2 separate regions of the Homo sapiens genome follow, and region 2 is linked to region 1. The links are contacts of gene promoters, found by promoter capture Hi-C in human tissues and cell types (Jung and others, 2019). All regions are on one chromosome and are shown on one strand. The core of a region is centred on a gene start or on the middle of the fragment in contact, and the rest is flanking DNA. Distances in the headings are between cores, read along the strand shown. Region 1 holds the start of PMCH (pro-melanin concentrating hormone). Region 2 has its middle 54 kb from the start of LINC00485.

Evidence for each region. The method cuts DNA at HindIII sites, captures the fragments that hold promoters and counts their contacts. A contact is called where the count stands out against the background at its distance.
Region 2: a contact is called between a fragment that was not itself captured here and the fragment with the promoter of PMCH in region 1, in 2 of the 25 tissues and cell types used here (lymphoblastoid cells and mesendoderm cells).

Annotation. Positions count from the first base shown.
Region 1 is chr12:102,196,035-102,199,417 of GRCh38, forward strand. PMCH (pro-melanin concentrating hormone) reads right to left here and starts at 1,799. Exons shown (of 3, transcript NM_002674.4): 1 at 1,488-1,799; 2 at 939-1,137; 3 at 425-667. The coding sequence starts at 1,736. The coding sequence ends at 618. PARPBP (PARP1 binding protein) reads left to right here. Exons shown (of 11, transcript NM_017915.5): 11 at 1-1,486. The coding sequence ends at 257. The HindIII fragment of the contact is 16,025 bases long and covers 1-3,383 here.
Region 2 is chr12:102,768,446-102,771,805 of GRCh38, forward strand. No RefSeq gene overlaps it. Among named protein-coding and RNA genes, the nearest start is that of LINC00485, 54 kb to the right of the region's middle. The HindIII fragment of the contact is 9,213 bases long and covers 1-3,360 here.

The sequences.
Region 1 (3,383 bases), core at 549-3,048:
TATCAAGAAAATCAACCAGTCAGACAGGAAATAAAAGCTCAAAAAGGAAACAGGTGGATTTGGATGGTGAAAATATTCTCTGTGATAATAGAAATGAACCACCTCAACATAAAAATGCTAAAATACCTAAGAAATCAAATGATTCACAGAATAGATTGTACGGCAAACTAGCTAAAGTAGCAAAAAGTAATAAATGTACTGCCAAGGACAAGTTGATTTCTGGCCAGGCAAAGTTAACTCAGTTTTTTAGACTATAAATTTGTGTCTTATATGCTTTAGGTTTATGTATCTATAAACCATTCACCAAAGACATGCTTAATTTTTAAGAGATCAAGGTGTAAATTATGATGATTTATTATTTTGGTCTACAGTGTATGTAAGGTTAGTATGTTAAGCATTGTTTAAAAATACTAGTAAGTCATAATTATGCAGAATTTTCACAAAGTTTAATGCACAGAGAAAGCATATCATTTCAGTTACTGATACATCTTAACACTACTTTCTTTTAAAACAGACATTTAACATACACAAGTTATAGTAGCAGTATGGGCTTCTCCTCCCATTGGCAATTAAATGCTTTTATTTTCTTCTGAAAAGATGATGTGGACCAACAGGTATCAGACTTGCCAACAAGGTCGGTAGACTCTTCCCAGCATACATCTGAGCACTGAAGGAAGAAGAAAGTTTAAATTGTTTAAAGGACTATAATTATCACACAAAATTTATTAAGAAAAAAAGAATGGATCTAGTATAACTAATTCTGAGTAAACCAAAATGATAATAATTAATTGTTGCTATTTAATCCCACATTTTTGGCAGGTGTAATTGAGCCATGGTCTTATTTGATTTTGTTATGATTGCATCCAAATTCACTTTAACTCAGAGTTCTGTTTAATGGTGGTAGGATGTAAGAATTGAATTTTGAAAAGACTACTCACTGTCAAAATCTCTCCTTCCTATAGGAAATTTAGCTGAGTTTTCTTCATCCCCAATTTCTCTCTTTTCTTGTGTTGATTCAGTATTCTGAACTCCATTCTCAGCTGGGAAAGCTACAGATCCTTTTAGTGCAAGATAAGGTTTTATAGCCAGATTCAGTGGCAGACCATGATTTAAGAAATTATGTTTGGAGCCTGTGTTCTGTAAAGAGAAGGTTGATTTGGTTTTTAGCTATCGTATTCGGAGTGGAACTATAATACAATTGTATAATATTCTTGTTGATCAATTCAAAGTTACTCTGCACTGTTTTTGACTTTTTAAAAATACCTTAGATGCAAATTTATAGGAGAAAAAACACTTTCAGATAAGAGGTGTTTGCTGGGATGGAAGAACTACCTGGCATGTAAGAAATATCGTCAGTCGTCCTAATGCATATTGTGACTGTTTGCATATACTTCTGTTTATAAAAGTATCAGTTTTACTTTTCAGAGGATTTGTAAGAATCATTTAAATTTTCATTGAAATAAACGACAAGTCACATTGCCACTTACCTTTGAAACTTTATTTTCCTCTTCGTTCATGAAACTGCTCTCATCATTTTTATATTGTTCCAGGGAAGGAGCAATAACTGATTTTTCTGCAGTGTCTTCCTTCTGAAAGCCTTTCCCCAACCTGAATGTATTAAATACCATGTCATCATCTAAATTTCTTATGGACTTGGATGCTGAAAGTAAAATACCTTGAGAAAACAAAGAAAAAGTTAGTATTAATATATAGGAAGAGAGATTCATTTTTGCCATTCTTAGTTTGATGTTTGCATACAGTCAAACAAGAAAGAAAATGAAAAATTTCTCTGTCAGCCTGCTTGGTAAACGATTCTGTATCTTTATATATTTTCTAGCTTGAATAGAAAGCACTTCAAAGAATTATACTTTTCATCATTTTAGAAATGACTCATTAGATTGAGGCTAACCTTTATGCAGCTGCTAATACCTACATTGTTTTGGTTTTAGTGACACATTGTTTATTTTGAGTGTGAATTTTCTCAGAATCTGACTAAGATCCTTGGTAGAATGCTTTCTGTTGAGTAGATTATAGTCTCTTGAAAATGGGTTGTTATTAAGGAAGACCACAGGACATCAGGCTCTCTCTATATTATTGTTTCCTTTTGTGTATTTTCTGATTAAGTAAAGATATTAAAACTCAAGTTATTTCACTCAAGGATGATAAGGATAAAGTTTTATTTCCTTTTAATCCTGATTAAACTGAAATAATCCTCAAAAGAGACTTTCTTTTATAAATACTTGATATAGTTTTTGGTGATTAAAGTACATATGCCTGTCAGTGTGAACAAAAAGCCATTCATGCTATATCAAAAATTGACCTGTCAGGTGTATTTTATCTCTGCATTTACAAAAGGATAATATGTACAAATATTTATTAATGAATTTAGAAATTAATGAATTAGTCCATGAAAAGAATATTTATGTGCCCATAAACATTACTTTTGGATGATGAGTTTATGTTGTATGACTTTTAATTAAACATTTCAGAGTTAATTTCTAATTTTGACCCCAATGAATAAGATAATACATTCTTTTATATGTCTTCTGGTACATATATGTAAGAATTTTTCTAGAGTATATTTCTCAGTATGGAATTACTGGATCATGGAGTATGTATATGTTCAGCTTTACTAATGCCAAAATGTTTTCCAACATAGTTGTAAGCGATTTGTGCCCTCGATAAGCAGGGTATGAGAATTTCCATTGTTCCATGTCCTAGCTGACTCTTGTGTCTCATTGTCCTTTTAATTTGTATTTTCCTAATTACCAAAGAGGTTAAGTGTCTTCCCATATGTTTCTGAGCCATTTATGTTTCCTCTTATGTTAAATGCTTTTTTTTTTTTTCTTTTTTGGCTTTGTCCATTTTTCTATTGGGTTGTCTTTTTCTAATTTATTTATGGGAGTTCTTTATATATTCTGGATATTAATTGTTAGTTATATATGTTTCAATTATTTTCGCTCAGTTTGTGACATATTTTCAACCCCTCTGGTGTCTTTTGGTGAACCAAACTGATTAATTTTAATGTTTAAATATTTTTCTTTTTTCTTTATGGCAACTACTTTTAATGTGTTGTTTTTTTTTAGAAATCCTTCTCAATCCTTAGATTATTAACGTGTTTTCATATATTTTCTTCTAAAAGTTTAAATATTTTGACTTTCATGTTTAGGTTTGTAATTCATCTGTAATTTTGTGTATGATATAAGATAGAGATGTAATTTTACTTTTTCCAATGTCCTTATATATTTCTTGAAGAAGTCATCCTGTCCCCACTAATCTGCAGTGCCATCTCTACAGTATATCAGATTTCTATATATGTGTGGGCTCCTTTCAGAACGTTCTATTCCACAGCCAAATCTACAGTATTAATATAACTTTAAAAT
Region 2 (3,360 bases), core at 291-2,790, 570 kb after region 1:
TAGCTTCTCTCTCATTCCTGAGTCACTTCGTACTGCAATACTTTGTGCCTTCCTGGTGTTGCTCACATGATCAAGAACTCATTTTAACAATAGCTGCCATGTTTGAGTGCTTACAGTGTGCCAGCCATTTGTCCAAACACTTTACTGTGTAATCGTCATCAGACCTTACTAAGGAAGGTATCATCCTCAATCTCTACATGAGGAAACCAAAGCCTGGTCTACATGAGGAAACCAAAGCCTGGAGAAGTTAAGTAACTGGCTTAATATCACAGAGTTTAGTGAATGGTAGAAACAAGGTCCCAACCCAAACTGTCTGGCTCCAGAGATTGGTTGTCATATAACTTATAGACCAAGCTGCAACACTTTTGAGAGTGACACGAGATACTATTAATAATTATGCCAGGACAACAGATATAAACCAAGACTGACCTTGGCAAACCAGGACATGAGGTTGTCCAACATATTCTGCCATTTTAAATGTACTCGTTGAATGGTTACAATCTTGTGAAAAGACGACAGGCTTTACAGCCAGCCAAATTCAGGCTTAATTGAGCAGAGGCGTGAAAGTACCCAACACAGTGCCTGCTGCATGGTAGGAAATCGGTAGATACCTGTTTCCTTCTGCCAAGTTTCTAATCCTTTGCTGGGCAACATGGGCAAGTGTAACATGTAGCCCTTATTCTGGAAGCCCTTACAATAGAGTTGATAGAAAAAAGGAACATAAATGAAAACTTTTAAAGATTATTCTAAGACTTTAGTAATCCGAGGCTGAGCATAAGAGTTCAGAGATGGTGATTCTCTTAGCTTTTGAATTTTTAGGTGAGTAGAAATTTGAACTGTGTCTTGAAGACTGAGTAGAAGGCAGGAAGGTTAGAATTGGGTATAGCTAAAGAAAGACTGAGTTTATTCAGAAGTGTCTCTGTGACATAAGTTTGTCAAATATTTCAGCTCCATTCCAACCATAGTAGTATTCCAGATACAATGAAACAGGGACACACTTTTGTTGTATTTTATTTTTTCAGTGTTGTGCACTCACGAACCCCTAGAGAGCCCAGATGAGGACTTGATTCTCCCAGGCATGGAAGGACAGACAGAGAAACTTCTTAGGAGCATTGGTCTGTGGTTTTCAAGACCTTCTGTTATTTAGGAATTTTGAACAAACTCCTGCCCCCGCAATGGTTTTCACAGTAAGAGCAACAGCTGCGGGGTACTTATTCCTCCCTGATTTATGTAAAAAGGAAGAGCAACTTCATCATACTTTTTCTCAGTCCCAAGTGCGGGAAATTCTAAACAGGCTCAACACCACCCTCTAGTGTGCACAAAGGGCGGACGTGGGAATTGAAGCCTGTTCATGACAAAGGCAGATGGTGAAGACTGGAGAAGGTAGAGGGAGAGAAACATCCTTGTATCTGCAGGAAGCCCATGAATTAATATATATCCAAGTGCTCTAAGGTAAAGTACTTCTTTAATAGAAAGATCTAAGGGAGCGCTTCCAAAAGAAAGAATATAATGTTCTGTGAAATACTAATCCCACGAGATTCCGTCCGCACGCGCTCTTTTTTTTTTTTTTTTTTTTTTTTATACTTTAAGTTCTAGGGTACATGTGCACAACGTGCAGGTTTGTTACATATGTATACATGTGCCATGTTGGTGTGCTGCACCCATTAACTCGTCATTTACATTAGGTATATCTCCTAATGCTTTCCCTCCCCCCTTCCCCCACCCCACTCTTAAAGTGCCCCACGGTTAACTAAGTTTGGAATCCTCTACACATCATTACAGTCTTCTGCAAGCCCCTGTTACAGCTTCAGTGTTTAGGAAAGCTGTTGGGAAGTTATGCAGTGATGAAAAATCCACTTCCCACAAACATTTGACCCCTGAACTTTTTTTTTTTTTTTTTTTTTTTACCTCTACAAGCCCCATGTCATCCCCTAACACAACTTCTCATGGAACGTACTTTGGGCAATGCTACTAGAAAAAGTACAAATGAAGTTCTTACCTCCGGCTTCCCATTTGATGAAACAAGTCCTGTCCCATAGGCTTCGATGGCTCCACTCTGCTTGCAAAGATCAAACTCTAAAGTAAACCAATAGAGCTGATCAAGGCACAAAATGGAAAAAGAATGGAGCGGTGACTGAAACCAAATATCTAATCAACAGTGCCAAGGACTGGAAGATCCCTCAAGAGGCTGAGAGGCAACCCAGTTCTTCCCCACTTCAACCCCATCCCGATCTTCAGGCAGGACAGAGAGCCTTCGTACTGCTCTCCTAATGCATCATCCTCAGTCCCCTGGACCCCGCTTCTTTCAAAGTTCAATTATATCTGAGGCTTAGTTCAAGGGTCCTCTTCTTCAAATCTTCTCATGACTCGGGGGCCCACTGAGCATTTCCTTTCCTTCAGTTAGATCACCCTTTCGTGTATTCATTAAAAGCACATTGAACACTTACCATATGCATGATACAGTGCTGGGAAATACAGATCTGAAATAGACAAAGATCCTACCCCCCAGAGGAGCTCACAATTTCTACCACTGGAAGAGGAATGAAGAGAAGACAACGAAGGCTCAGTTCTAAGGAAGGCTTCAGCAGATGAAGATACAGTAAGTTGCGGGCACATTGCCTTGTAGAACATATCCAACAGCATTCTCACCATGATCACATCAAGTTATCAGAACACAGCCTGCCTCAGGTTAAGCACTCTATGGATGTTAGCTTTTATTTGTGTTGTTATTATCATTCTTGCTATTATGTATTACATTTATGTTGTATTACTTTTTTTCTTATTCTACTGTTCCTGTACAATAAAATTGAAGGGTAAGATGCTATCTCCACCACAAATGGTTTAGTTTGTGAAATTACTGCAATACTCAGTGATTGCTGTGATTGCTGATAAATATCAATGCCAATGACACTTTATTCCTCTCCCTGTAAAATGATGCTACCAGTAACTATCTTTTCAGATTTCATTGATTCGTCAATTTTTCTTCATTCATTGAAATAATATAAGGTTTCCATTATGTGCCAGACTCTGTGCTAAGGAAAGGGAATATAATAATAAGACAGACAAAGTCCCTGCCCTCCTGGAGTTTGCTACATCTCAGAATTGTGGAGATTTCAGTGAGATTACTTTATATGTGTGCATTTTCTGATATGAAAGGCTGGGTAAATGTAGAGTATTATTATAACTTAACAACCCACCAACACTACTGCTGTCAAGCATAGCCTCCAGTCTCTGAAATAGAGAATCTCACTGTGCTTACCTGGCACAGTGCCTGGTTTCATAGGCACCTTCAGAAATGTCTGCTTAATGAATGAATGAGTGGAAGAATTAATTAGAAACATTATTACTAAATTTCATTTT